Regions from separate parts of the Homo sapiens genome. Here all the other regions are linked to region 1. Evidence: promoter capture Hi-C in 16 types of primary human blood cells and fetal thymus (Javierre and others, 2016). All regions are on one chromosome and are shown on one strand. The core of a region is centred on a gene start or on the middle of the fragment in contact, and the rest is flanking DNA. Distances in the headings are between cores, read along the strand shown. Region 1 holds the start of TMEM52B (transmembrane protein 52B). Region 2 overlaps LOC112268104 (a long non-coding RNA gene). Region 3 has its middle 29 kb from the start of CLEC2D. Region 4 overlaps YBX3 (Y-box binding protein 3).

Region 1 (3,551 bases), core at 422-2,921:
AAGAAACAGATTTGTAACTATTGGGAGTTTATGGCGGGTAGTGAAGGGGTAAGGAGACACACATTCTCAAGACCTATCAGTTGGAAAGGATCTGTAAAAGGATTAATGGCCAGCCTTTGCAGGTAACATTTGAGAAACCCGTGTTTGTGTTTTCATTGGAAAGAAATGGCCACTAACGATGAAAAAGCGTGTGTTTCCTCTACGCAACCATGGTACTTTCTTTCACTTTCTTCACTAAAGGTAAGAGAAGCCTAAAGTGCTCAGCAGAGAAAATGCTACTTTTCAGGCTTGTTGCAAAGAGAAAAGAAAGGAAAAATGAAGGGAAGACAAGGCAAAGGGAGTGAAGAGGAAGCAAAAAGAAAATATAAGAAAAAATGGATTTTCAGATACCACTTTAACTGTTCTATTAGCAAAAAAAAAAAAAAAACAAACCATACAGCCCACTCTGTACGGGGGCCATACGGGAATCTGAGACTATCCAGTTTTCTTCATTTGCTCTCCTTCTTGCTAGATGGCATAGCTCTATAAACTTCCCTGTGACAATTGTTTAGAATCCCTCAGTCCAGTGACCCTTTTCTCCACTAATGGATTACTCAGAGACTTCTGATTCATTGTGGGGCCCAAAATATTTTAAAAGAGCCCTGCCTCTCTTATTTCTAGACTAGAGGCACCTAAACTGCTAGAACAGGATTAGAAATTCCTGGATGGGAAATTCCGTTTAGGGGAATTACACACCTAGTTTTCATAATTTGTTTGGAATTTTGAGGGATGGGTGATAAGATGCTAAAAGAGATAAAATACTTCAGCGGCACTTCTAAAGTGCCACGGCAATCCTGCTCGTTTCCATGCTCACTCTAATTTCTGTCCCCCTTTTCATTGTCATTGCCATCAGTCACACATGCATCTATGCAATCTCGTAATACTAAGGAAACTTTGTAGTTTATTCATTTCCCTATGACCCCCTGGGTTCTGTATATGTCTCCCCACCCCGCAGTTCATTTCCTTTCAGACTCTTCTGAGAGTTGATTAATCTGGGGAAAAATACTCTTTCTGCCTTTTCACCACTGAACTCACCAGGATGAAATACAGCAGGGCTGAGGCCGCCACGACATGAACTCGGACTCCCATCGGGCTGAATTCCTGCTTCTTCAGAATCTTGCACTGGGCATCCGTTGCCTCCTTTCAATGCTCTGTGCCATATTTTACTTCTTGACCTAGAATTCTTAAGAAGAGAAACTTTTCTCAGGAATTTATCAGCTTTTCTCTCTCTCGTTCTCTCTGTCTCCTCCTACTCGCTCTGGCTGTTATTTTCTATGGCTTTTCCCTCTTCTTTCCTGTTTTTCTTCTTTATTCTTATTACTATTTCTATGGCCTCCACATTTACTTCCTTTTGCCTTCTTTCTTTCCGTTACACTATTAATTCTTTCTACATCTTGAAGTTTCTTTCTCCTACTGCTCCCAAAAAGGAGACATTCAAAGAGGACATATGTGTCCTCTGAATGAAGTATTTTTCTAGACAGCGATGAAAAACTTGGCTTTGAGGATGGTCAAAGGCAGATTGCTGGTGACCAAATATATTCCTTTCTTCATCAGAAAACTGGTAATATTCTTGATCCTTCACCAGAGTACTCCAGCGTGACTGTTGCAGGGTGAAAGTCACCCTGCTAATCTCCTTTCTTCTCTCTCCGTGTGACTAACAACCCCTTCTTGCTCTTTGAAACCCTCCCCTTCACTATGTTGATAATCAACTCTCCTGGTTCTGGGTCATTTATATCCCTAAGCATTGGGGTAAGACTGAGAGGTTGCCAAGTGAACAGGAAAGCCATCTCATCTTTGGAGAAAACAGACTTGAAGATGAGAAATCAAGTCGGAAGATTAGAATTTTCAGGTGTTATCAGTGACATCTTCCTCCTCCCTGACTTCACTTCCCATTGAAATAGATAACTGAGAAAGACATTTTTTTAAAACCAAATTTTAAAAAAGCAAATGTATAGGTTTCTTTCTTTCTTGCCTTTTCTTTGTTCCTTCTTTCTCTCTCTTTCTCTCTCTCTCTCTCTCTTTGGTTAAGGAGTGATGTGATTGAGAAATAAGTCTTGTCACTCAGGAAAATAAAACCTAAGGTTAGAGTAAAAACAAGCACACATGCAAAAGCATAGAATACTTTTTTTTTTTTTTTTTTTGAGACGGAGTCTTGCTCTGTCACCCAGGCTGGAGTGCAGTGGCGCAATCTCGGCTCACTGCAAACTCTGCCTCCTGGGTTCATGCCATTCTCCTGCCTCAGCCTCCCGAGTAGCTGGGAATACTGGCGCCCACCACCACGCCCGGCTAAGTTTTTTTGTATTTTTAGTAGAGACGAGACGGGGTTTCACCATGTTAACCAGAATGGTCTCGATCTCCTGACCTCATGATCCGCCCGACTCGGCCTCCCAAAGTGCTGGGATTACAGGCGTGAGCCACCGTGCCTGGCCTAGAATACTTACAATGAAACAAAGCTATAGACACAAATGTGGCCGGGTGCCATGGCTCATGCCTGTAATCCCAGCACTTTGGGAGGCCAAGGCGGGCTGATAACTTCGGCCAGGAGTTTGAGACCAGCCTGGAGAACATGATGAAACCCTTTCTCTACGAAACATACAAAAATTAGCTGTGTGTCATGGCAGGCACCTGTAATCCCAACTACTTGGGAGGCTGAAGCAGGAGGGCCACTTGAACCCGGAAGGCAGAAGTTGCAGTGAGCCGAGATCACACCACTGCACTCCAGCCTGGGTGATAGAGCGAGAATCTGCCTCAAAAAAGCAAAATATTAAAAGAAACAAAAGAATGCTGTATGAATGATTTATACTTAAGTAGGTGATCTTTTACTTAATACCAAATGTTTAATAAAAAAATTATTATTATTATTATTATTATTATTATTATTATTATTATTATTATTTGAGACAGAGTCTCTCTGTCACCAGGCTGGAGGGCAGTGGTGCAATCTCGGCTCACTGCAACCTCTGCCTCCTGGGTTCAAGCAATTCTCCTGCCTCAGCCTCCTGAGTAGCTGGGATTATAGACACCTGCCACGACACCCAGCTAACTTTTCTATTTTCAGTAGAGACAAGGTTTTACCATATTGGCCAGGCTGGGATAAGAAAAGTAGAAGTTAGTTTACAGTGATATATCTATCTCATAAGAATTGAATAAAACCTCCTTTCAGGACCTTTCTAGCTCAGTAAATCTAATTATGCTGAGTGATTGTGGAAGGGAGACTCTTGGGTGAGCTGATCATACTCTAAGGGTCCTCACACATAGCTTGATGATGGGATATGAGAATGCAGGATATAAACTGGTTTTGTTCTCAGCTAAGGAAAACAAATAATGAGAAAATGGCCTGGTACCATACTGGTGATTTAAAATCTGTCAGTTTCAAGACGAAATGAGCACTGACAGTCTTTTATTTTTTATTTTTTTAAATTAGGCAACTGGGGTTAGGATGAAGGGTGATTTCCAGATTTCAGTAGAAGACTTGGCAAGGTGGAAGGTATTTTATAGGACAAGGAGAGCAG
Region 2 (3,551 bases), core at 573-3,072, 560 kb before region 1:
TTTCACAATAGCGCATATCCCTCCCTCTGTTTAAAAAATTGAATGAAAAAATTTAAAAATGGTAAAAGAAAGTATTTCCCCAGGGACACTGTAGAGGCAGAAGGAAGTAATAGGAAATCAGCCTTGAGACAGTGGACACTGTTAATACCTGTCTCTTTTTTAAGATATGCACATAAGAAAGGCAAATTTTTGGAGTTACACTGATGACTCATGACCTGTAAACTAATCTTCTTGTGATCAGCTGGCTGGGTGTACATATTAACTAGTTAGAATTAGCTCTGTAGTGTGGGGCTTAACACGTGGTAGATACTAAATTAACTGTCACCAAGACATCTACACTTATTACAGAACTTGATATGGTTTCAAGAAAATAATGAGGACATGAATCTTTACAAAATGAGATATCCATGAATTGTCAAATTATTTTATTTTCTTTAAATGAAATTAAATCAAATCCAACCTGTCACTCAACCAGGCTGACAAAAAGATATAATTTAATATTATATTTCAGTGTTGTTCTACCCCATTTTCATAATCAATTCACATATCTCTATAAAGAAAATTTACACCTATTTTGTTGTCCTCTTCACAGCATACAAAAAGAAACCATTTTTTTTAGCCTGAATGAGAGATGTTTCAAAGACAGGAACCATCAGAAAAATCAGTGGCTGGATGGAGGGGCGATAAGTTCCCCGAGTTCCTCAAGAGCTGAATATGTGAGCTGAGCACAGGGGACATTTCTTGCCTGTGCCTTTCAGAAACTGAGTCTTCTTGGAAATTTTTCTTTCTTCCAGAACAGTTCCAAATCCACTTATTGAGAGGGCTACTCAGAGTCTTTATTAGTCTCAGAGAACTTGGAGTCTCAGATAATGGAGTAGCCATGTGGGGCTTACACAGAGATATGAGGTTTTTTTAATTGGTGGGAAACAGTGAGTTACTCATTCAAACCAAATCTTCAGTCAAGCCTCTTCATCCTTGAAGCCATTCCATTTCTCCTTTCCCCCTGACCCTTGGGTCATAGTCCCCTGCTCACATCCATCCATGTTTGGGAAAAGAATGAGAGGGTGGTCCCACTCTCCTTGCTCTTCATCCATTACCAGGTGAAGGTTTAGACTGTACTTTCCTCTCTCAAATTTCCAGTTTATTATTGTCTAAAAATCTTTCCCAAGCACAACCAGTTCTCTGTAAGAGAGAAAGTACCTGGTAAGAGCTGGTTCACTTTTCCCAGTTCCTAAGCACAGTGTGTGAGTCAAGCAAAAGAGGTGTCAATTGCATGTGGCTTCTACTGAGACAAGAGTGGCCCCACTGGAACTCCCCCTCTTAAAGAACCCCAAAACACACTCAGCTTTTTCATCAAAGCACTAATTGTGTGGTTAGTTGTGAGCACATAAATTTTCCTCAAAAGCACAATAAAAGAAGGGTGATTGCACACCCCTAAACTCTAAACACCTATCTTATAAATGTGTCCCTTCTGATGATGAGGATAAGCACACATTTACTGGGTATTTTGGTTGTGACAAGTATTATTCTAAGCACTTTATGCACTTTGTCTCATTTAATTATCACAACAACCTTACTATTTTTTAAGAGCTGGGGTCTTGCTCTGTCACTGACACTGGAGTCTAGTGGTGCCATCAAAGCTCACTGCAGCCTTGAACTCCTAGGCTCAAGTGATCTTCCTGCCTCAGCCTCCCGAGTAGCTAGGACTACAGATGTGCGTCACTGCACAGCGAATTTCTTTTCTTCTTTATTTTGTAGAGTCAGGGTTCTATTATGTTGCCCAGGCTGCTCTCAAATTTCTTGGCTTCAAGTGATCCTCCCACCTCAGCCTCCCAAAGTATTGAAATTACAGGCATAAGGCACCATGCTCGGCAAGAGGTACTATCATTATTATTTCATTTTACTGATGAAGAAACTGAAGAAAAGAAATGGAAATTTTTCCAAAGTTGCACAGCTTGTAAAACTGAAACCCAGGACATATGACTTCAAATCTCCATTATCCAGTCATCCATTTTGCCTGGGACTAAGGCATTTCCCAGGATGTGGGACTTTCGGTGCTAAAATTTCAAAATGATACTGGTAGAGCTAGTGTCGCTATGGGGCCAGTCTCTTTGAGGTCCCAGGCTCTCTCCAGGTGCCTCAGGCCACCACATTAATGGTAGGTTAAAGTCTGTGACAATTCAGTGGGGGTACCAGCAGCATCCAAGCATTCACAGAAGTTGATTCTCTGGTGAGAACGAGAGAAGCGTATCCAGTGTGGATATGCAGGGGCCCCAGTTACCTAAAACTTTGAAAAGTAGCATTCAGACATTTTAATTGCCACCTTAATTCCCCATCAACTCTCTCCTGGGCCTTGGGCCAATCCACAGAAAAGGATCTATTTGCCTGCACCCTGTCTCCTGCTATGGAAGGAAACAGTTTCTTTTACCAGATTCACTAGTTGAGAGAAGTTTGGCAAAGGGATTGAGTACAGTCAGATTAGGCTTTGCAGACAGAAGGACGCTCAGCTTTGCTCCTGCCCATACCAGGGCTGAATGGGCCAGCTAACCTTACTATGAATATAGTCAGCTTCCCCGAGCTTTCTGGCAACATTTGGGATGTTTACCTACAATCTTCTCTGGTTTTAAGAACCCAGAACCAGCTGTCAAGTATCTTGAACTAGTCTCAGAAACACATGACTTGAGAGCAGTAGTGGCTTCCTGAGGTTGACATCCCCAGAAGTTCCAGAGGTCATCTTCCTTTCTCAGCTACCTGCAACCTCATTATTGAGCCTTAATCAAGATAGAAATGTCTTCTCTCTTGGGATGGAAATTGTGTCTCCTAAAAACACTCTCGGTTTCTGGTAGGTAATCATCTCCAACTTAATCTAAGTGGCATTTCCAGGTTCTGTCATCTGTCCCATCATGTTAAACCATGTGTCAGATGGCATGTCCAAGTTTGAGGAAATGATGTTTGCCTTGTGCCCAGGATTCTGAAAACATAACGCCACCACCTTAGAGCAGAAGTTTAATTTTTAACAGTCCATTCTGAAATGATGGTCTTATAGTCAGGCCCCCAAAAAGTACTCTCCAGGTAATGCTAAACACCAGAACAGGATTGTATTTACCCTCATTTAATTTCTTTATCTTCTGCTGGACAATCTTATATGTGTAATTGTGTAGTAACTTTCAAACAGTCTCACCATGGTCTGCTAGACACATATCACTAGGGACTTGTGAAAGTGCACACCCAAATCTATACCAGAGTCACAGCTAGGCTGACCAGTCATCCAGTTTGCCTGGGACTAAGGCATTTCCCAGGATGTGGGACTTTCGGTGCTAAAATTTCAAAATGATTTGGCTTCAGTGTTAAGAGTTGTAATCTACCCATGGCTCCGATATGGACCACACAAATACTTTGGTAATTCCAGTGGCAGGGGGGCCGGGGGGAAGGCATATATAAGAGACATGAATCGTAGTCCACATATTTGGGTGTGGTGGGAAAAAAAGTCATATCATGTATCAGTCAGGGCCCTGGCAGGAAAAAGCATGATAAAAGGCAATTAATTGAGA
Region 3 (3,551 bases), core at 355-2,854, 540 kb after region 1:
TTTGGGCAGAAAGACATCTCAGCTGAACTTAAAAAATCTTTGCAGAAAGCTGGCTCCAATCCTTAAGGCTCCAGTTCCAGAAATGGTCTGCACAATGACAAACCGGCCACTTTTCAAGACTTCGCTGTTCTCACCAAGGGCTAGTTCTGCAGATGCCTTGCAAAATTCAGCCAGTCCCCCAGTGGACAGGTATTCCTTGTCCAAACTTTTTGTGGCAATCTGGGCCTCTGCCTTGGGGACGCTAGGCAGCACGTCCAAGGCTTTCCGTTATCATCCCGGTAGGCACCAACTCCCAGATTCATCTTTTTGCTATTGGTGTCCCTCTTAAAGTCTTCAATGACTGCCAGGATGATATCTGGAGGTCCCATTTCCACATGGGTCCATCAGGAGCTGGCTCTGGCAGAGGCCGCAGCTGCGAGGCCCAGGTGGAAGGTGGCAGCGATCCCAGAGAGGACGCAGCCAGAGTGCAGCAGGGCCACGGTGGACAGTAGGAGGGCAGTGGGCAGCTGCAGGACTGAGCAGAGGGCTCTCTGTAGTGTTTTAATTGCGAGAGACGATTTGTGAGGCTGATCTGAAGCTGTAGCCAATCTGGTCTGCTTTGCATGTCTTTCTGTATGGTCCATAGCAAATTTGCTGAGGACCTCCATCTTGTTTAACATCCTTGGGAGCAAGACCTGTAACCACTTGGCAAGGTTTTGTGTAGCCTCTGTGTAGCTTGGATTCAATCCTGGCTTAGGGAATGAGTCTTACCTGGTTTGATATCTGCATGACCTTTTGCTATTTGTTGATTCCATTTCTCTCCATGAACTGCCTTGGATTTTCCTTTCTCTGAGCCTTTAGTAAAGTTTGAAAGCCAGAAATATTGGCCACTTGGTGTGGCTAAATTCAGATAATAAGGGAGTTAAGAGGAATTTCTTAAGGAGTGCTCAGCTTAACTAAAAGTGGATATCCAAGTTAGAGTCATATTTAAAAGGTTTCCCTTTTCTTGGACCTTGTTTTGCTGGGAAAAGGTTTTTCTTGGTCAACTGAATTATTTTTTCTTCATTTTGCTTTGCCACTTTTTTAATGCACGCACAAGAGAGGAGAGACCTCTTTTTTTTCTCATGGACTCCAGAAATTAAAAGCACCCAGAGGCCAATAATCCAATTAGGAGATTGGCAAATGAAAGATCTTATGGGGACCGGGTTATCTTCTACCTGTCTGTGTAATTCTATATGTGTTGTGTGTGTGATGTTTACATAAAAAAAAGAGCTCTAATTAATTTTGCCTAAAGGAAGACAAGCACTTGGATCAAATATTTTATGAAAGAGAAGATAAAAAGCTGTGGTACCTTTCAGTTCACGTGACTTTAATCTTGGAGAAATAAAAACAGCCTTAAAGATTATTGGTAAAAAGCAGATGTCATAAAAATGTAAATAGGTGGACTAAATTATGCAGGTCAGATACTAGGTTGGCAAAATATTTTAAGGTCATAAACTGCTTTTTTGGTTTTTGAGAACTTTTCAATTTGCTGGCTTCACAATTGGCAAGGCCTGGGGACACATGGAACTAAACACTCCCTTAATTATGTTGGAAGGAGTCAAACCTTGGCTGCATCTAGCACATAATCAAAACAACTTACCAGGTTTTACATTAAAGTTAAAAACTGCTAAAAGTTACCATTATGACATGTAATTGAGACTATTGGAAATAGATTTACATGCAAGGTGCATAAGGACAGTGAAATGTGTTTTTAATAAAGATTATAAGAAATCATAAAAATGTAAATTCCTGCCTAGGGTTGAAGATTTGTTTTAAATTAGATAAGATAAAGCTAAAAGTTCAAACAACTGGTGGAAGGATTGTAAAAATTAATCTTGCAACAAATTCTCTGTGTGAACATATTGACTAACTTCAAAAAGTATTGTATGATTTTTCTGTAAATTGAGCATTCAAATAAAAGCACAGCAAGGTATCCTTAAGGCACTAATCTGCTCGTCAGCAAAATTTGTATGAAAGGGCTGTACAAGGTTTTTTCTTTAAAAAAATTTCTTAGTTGTTATTTCAGCAAAATAAATAACTTATGGTAATCCGGAATTCTATTTCATAACAGCAAGTATTTTAAGCCTCTAATATATTTAATAGGCTTTCCAAAATCAAACTTCAGTTTCAAAATTGTCTTTTCTGACACCTGGCTTTTCAGATACTTCAGAGGGCCCCTGGAGTGTTCAGAAAAGAAAGGTAAACAGGATTATGTGACACGTTTAGGTACATGGGATTGCCAAAATGGTATTCAGTCTTCTTTAGGTCATATTTTGGTGAATAATACTAATATGTGTTCCAAAATTGTATGGAATTTCTAAAATTCTAATGTCTAAAGAATATCCTATCAATCATAATTAAAGTTGTTAAGTTATTGTAAACTACAGAGATAACAAAACTTTGTCAATTGTGTTTCTAACTGTAACTACCCTGGACATATTGTTATTCACAGACAATTGTTGTTTTAATCTTTTTCAAAAGATGGTTTATAATAAGCTAGAGAACTTTTACAAGTGCTCTCAGATACAGGTTTCTCATACCTTTGGGGATTGTGACATTGGAATAAAGGAAAAATGTACAGAACTCATGAAGAGCTAAAATGTTCATAAATATCAAGCAAAATAAGGGTTAACTGGGTGAACTCAAAAAAATGAAGCAATCTTTCTCAATTTTGCTTGGATATTGCTGATCCTTGTTTTGTTTTTTAGAGTCAAGAAAACATATTTTGAACTATTTATAGCCTTTAATCATTGAGTAGAGTATACTCCTGTGAACAAAATTTGGAGTATATTTGCTTCTCTCTGCCTGGTTCCTGTAGAATTTGGAAATTATCTGTGAGTATTCTTAACTTACAGCAATATACTTGTTTGCATCAGTGCAGTAAAAATCCATTTTCTTTTGCAACAGGATGCAATTGGAGTAACTGGTTGTTTTACCAAGGCTTTGACTGGAAGGGTATGCTTCTCTTTAAGGAGTCAAGCTCAACTTGCAGAGCCAATAAAAGTCCCTTGGGGAAGGCCGGGCGTGGTGGCTCACACCTGTAATCCCAGCACTCTGGGAGGCCAAGGCGGGCGGATCACCTGAGGTTGGGAGTTTGAGACCAGCCTGACAAACATGGAGAAACCCCATCTCCACTAAAAATACAAAATTGGCCATGTATGGTGACACATGCCTGTAGTCCCAGCTACTCGGGAGACTGAGGCAAGAGAATTGCTTGAAGCCGGGAGGCAGCGGTTGCGGTGAGCCAAGATTGTGCCATTGCACTCCAGCCTGGACAACAAGAGTGAGACTCTCTCAAAAAAAAAAAAAAAAAAAAAAAAAAAAAAAAGTCCCTTGAGGAAACTGGTCTCAGAGCCTTGTCTATGCAGTTCCTGTACAGGGTTCATGACCTGTGATCAGTAAAGAATGTCACTTTCTAACAGGCCCAGGAGCTCCAAGTTTATCTTGGAACCTTAAGACAAGAGGATTACCCAACTCACAGGTATTTGAGGATACAAATACATGTCTGGGCGTGGCTTTAAAAGATCTTA
Region 4 (3,551 bases), core at 566-3,065, 530 kb before region 1:
GAAACCGGTGGTGATTAGTTACATGAATAAGTTCTTTAGTGGTGATTTCTGAGATTTTGGTGCACCCATCACTGGAGCAGTATACACGGTACTCTTAAGGGGAAATTTTAGCGCTCAGAACTTTTCCAGAGCCGCTGGTCTCATTAGACACTTGCCATTCAGAAGTTGTATCAGTTAGGATATATTTGGCTACAAGTAATAGACATTTAATTATCTTTTAACAGGAAGACTTAAGGGAGACAGTGCTGAGGTTTTTTTTAACAAGGTTTCTCTTCATTTGGCTCTTTTTTCTGGCCAGAACCTAGTCACAGACATTCACTGGCAAAGGGGAATGGATTTCCATCATTGACTTAACCTTGTTGTTCATTCTTTGGTGCCGACACTGTTGACCTCTAAGAAAATCAAAATTTGGTTGGTGAAAGAGTGAGAAATAACTTGTGAACAGGCAATAAAAGTACAGGCCACAGAACTATTAACGAATTTGCCTTGGTTAAGAGGCTGTTTTATTTAGCATAGCATTTTTCCATTATTTCAAAGTAAAGAAGCAATAAGTGATTCTGTGGATTTTTAGTTCTTTAGGTTGGTTTCAATGCAGGGGAAAGAGTTTGTCACAAATCTGGCTGGAGCTTTCTTGGGAGGCTCAGTTTATAGGAGTATTCTCAAGGCACCCAAAACGGACCCAGTATATTTGTGGTCATGAGAAACTTACTAGATTTGAATCATTCTTGGTGTTTCTAGAATTAGAACCAGGTATTGGCACATTGAAGAAAACTCCGAATGTTTGTCAGCACAGGATTGTGACTGCCTGTCTCATCCAAAGAAAAACTCATCAGAATTAAATATCTGCAGATTGAGAATGACCTATCTTTATGTTTTGATAGCTTTATATCTTTCTGTTTACCTAAATGCTTTTCCTCCTTATTCTGCCATCATCACATCCTGCCCAAATTAATTCTGTCAGATTCCTTAGGACTTCCCACTTGTTTCTTTGTTTTTGCTTATCTTATTTGGTTTTTAATAAGCTATGAGGGGGATAGCTAGGAATGAGCTGCTGTAGCATTTCCTACATCATGTTCTCTTTGAAGTTCATCAGAGTCACAGAGCGCTAACTGTGATTATTTTGACTCCCAGGTTAATTCAAAAGCAAAAGTGGTAGAAAAACATTCAGTGAAAAATTTTTCTTAAAGACTTTTCCTGTCCAAAACCTGAAAATTCCAAAGTCATGCATATAAAAGATATTTAGAAACAAAATTGTTAAAACGCTTAAGAAACAAAATTGTTAAAACTCTTAAAGTATACATAAATGAGCTTTTTTGTTGTAATATCTAAGTCCCAACAACTTGTTCAGTATCTCTCAAAAGAGTGTGTTCAGCATTGCTGGTGCCATTATTATGCTTTGTAAAACTCTTAAAGATTTGATTGTGTGAAATGCAAAAGAGGAAGATAAGCCCAAGAAGAAAAACAGTTTATGTTGTCTCACACTTAATATTTTGGTAAGCATTTTCTGTGCAAATAAACGTTTACATAATTGTGAATCTCATCTTTGGTAGAGGTTTTATGAAGAGTAGAATGACTTGATTTTTTTTGAAGTTAGACTAGTTGAGGCTTTTTTGGAGGGGGAGTTTGGTTGCACATGTGGACTTGTTCTGGAAGGGTCCAAAGCTTAAATACACTCCTGTAAAAAAAAGTAATGGGTCATTATTTTGCTTTTTTTATTTATTCATTTTTAAAAACTAGTTACTTCCCATTAAAGACATTTGCATATCCCCTTTAAAGTAAGACTTGAAATCACAGTCTTTGTAGGATGTTTGGTTTTTTAAAATGTAAAATGGTAGTATATGATATAATTTAAATAGAAGAAAAATATAAAATGAATCGGTAAATTCCTTTGTGAATATTAATAAGATCTATTATTTAGAAACCTCCAGGATTAGGGCTTACTACCATCAAAGTATGATTAAAGCTTTACTCCTAAACATATAAAGGGAGTCATGCCTTAGGTCAGTGGTTCTCAAACTTCCTGATTTTGGGATCTGTTTATATGCTTACATGTTATTGAGGATTCTAGAGTTTTTGTCAATGTTTATTTATATTAATATTATATTAGAAAGTAAAATAAACTTAAAATGTTAATTGATTAAAAATAACTATATGTTCATGAAAATAACAGTTTTTATGGAAAAAAAATATTTAAATTGAAAAGAGTGGTATTGCTTTATACTTTTGCAGATCTCTGATGTATGGTTTAATAGAAGATAGCTGGATTCTCACATCTGTTTCTGCATTCAGTCTGCTGAGAGACCACATGTCATTGTAGCCTTTGGGAGACCCCACCATATACTTCTGAGAGAATGCCTGGGAAAGGCAAATAGCATCTTAGTAATATTATGGCAATAGTTTGACCTCGCTGACCCCCTGGAAGTTTTCAGAAATCCCATCCACACTTTACAGACTTGTAGGAAGAATACCACTTGGGTCAAATATGTTGGTAACATCATAAAATGTATTCTTTTTTGGCTTTTCCCTGACATTGCCTCAGTGGATGGTAAATGCTGGGAGACACGCATTTGATGGAGCAAAAATTATAAACCTTGCAGATACTCTTCGGGTGGTTGGTTAGCTGATACGAGTTCTAATGAGATGACTATTAAATTGATTGTAGATTGATTGCTCTTGCTTTTCTGCTTCTTGGTATTTTATCTGCACAGATCTACTCTAATCTTAATGTAGTTTATCCCAGGCAATCACATGATAATCTGGGTTAAATGCATTTTGTCTGTATAATGGAAAGGATTATATTGCTTTGGGGAGATTTTATTTTGGTGATATTCATCCTAAATGGTGTTCTTTGGTTCTTTCCTTGCTAAAACTTCTTCTGAATCTCTGTTTCTTTGCTTCGCTAGTACGCTGGGGAGGAGGAGGAGGAAGGGAGCGGCAGCAGTGAAGGATTTGACCCCCCTGCCACTGATAGGCAGTTCTCTGGGGCCCGGAATCAGCTGCGCCGCCCCCAGTATCGCCCTCAGTACCGGCAGCGGCGGTTCCCGCCTTACCACGTGGGACAGACCTTTGACCGTCGCTCACGGGTCTTACCCCATCCCAACAGAATACAGGTAAAATTGCAACTGAGACTTCTCTTCAGCAATCCTCACCCTTCCGTCCTTCTCTGCCTCCTCTTCCTCCTCCTCCTCCAACATCAGCTGCCAGAAACCTTGCTTATGGCTTCCTGATGCTACAAAAGCTGAGGCAAGGCCTTCAGTCTGTTTTTTCAAAGCAGTCATTCCGGTAACACTTCTAAAAGCAAAACCACGTGATCCATGCCTATAATAGGGAACCCTTATGGCCAAAGTTTCTAGTTGATAGAAGAACAAAAGAATTAAGGTAACAAGACAGGTGGAATGTGTAAGAGCTTGGACTCTGAAGTCAGGCTGGATTTGAATCCTGTTTCTGCTACTTATTTGTGAGGTTTTGAGAAAACCAAGTTTTAGATTAAGTTCATCCATTAAGTGGGGGCATTAAATGCCTGCACCATAGGGTTATGATGATTAAATATA

Evidence for each region. Contacts are between HindIII fragments. The CHiCAGO score rates a contact against its expected background, and 5 or more counts as called.
Region 2: a fragment that was not itself captured here is called in contact with the fragment with the promoter of TMEM52B in region 1 in 2 of 17 cell types (naive CD8 T cells and total CD8 T cells); the score reaches 6.3 in naive CD8 T cells.
Region 3: a contact is called between a fragment that was not itself captured here and the fragment with the promoter of TMEM52B in region 1, in 1 of 17 cell types (neutrophils). The highest score is 5.2, in neutrophils.
Region 4: a fragment that was not itself captured here is called in contact with the fragment with the promoter of TMEM52B in region 1 in 1 of 17 cell types (naive CD8 T cells); the score reaches 5.6 in naive CD8 T cells.

The regions. Positions count from the first base shown.
Region 1 is chr12:10,177,152-10,180,702 of GRCh38, reverse strand. TMEM52B (transmembrane protein 52B) reads right to left here and starts at 1,671. Exons shown (of 5, transcript NM_001384896.1): 1 at 1,075-1,671. The coding sequence starts at 1,128. RefSeq lists an enhancer at 114-1,313. The HindIII fragment of the contact is 29,503 bases long and covers 1-3,551 here.
Region 2 is chr12:10,733,332-10,736,882 of GRCh38, reverse strand. The region is part of intron 1 of LOC112268104 (a long non-coding RNA gene); the gene reads left to right. Among named protein-coding and RNA genes, the nearest start is that of YBX3, 12 kb to the right of the region's middle. The HindIII fragment of the contact is 3,643 bases long and covers 1-3,551 here.
Region 3 is chr12:9,638,646-9,642,196 of GRCh38, reverse strand. It overlaps the pseudogene LOC374443 and the pseudogene GOT2P3. Among named protein-coding and RNA genes, the nearest start is that of CLEC2D, 29 kb to the left of the region's middle. The HindIII fragment of the contact is 5,494 bases long and covers 1-3,551 here.
Region 4 is chr12:10,709,467-10,713,017 of GRCh38, reverse strand. YBX3 (Y-box binding protein 3) reads left to right here. Exons shown (of 10, transcript NM_003651.5): 6 at 2,904-3,110. Among named protein-coding and RNA genes, the nearest start is that of YBX3, 12 kb to the left of the region's middle. The HindIII fragment of the contact is 301 bases long and covers 1,665-1,965 here.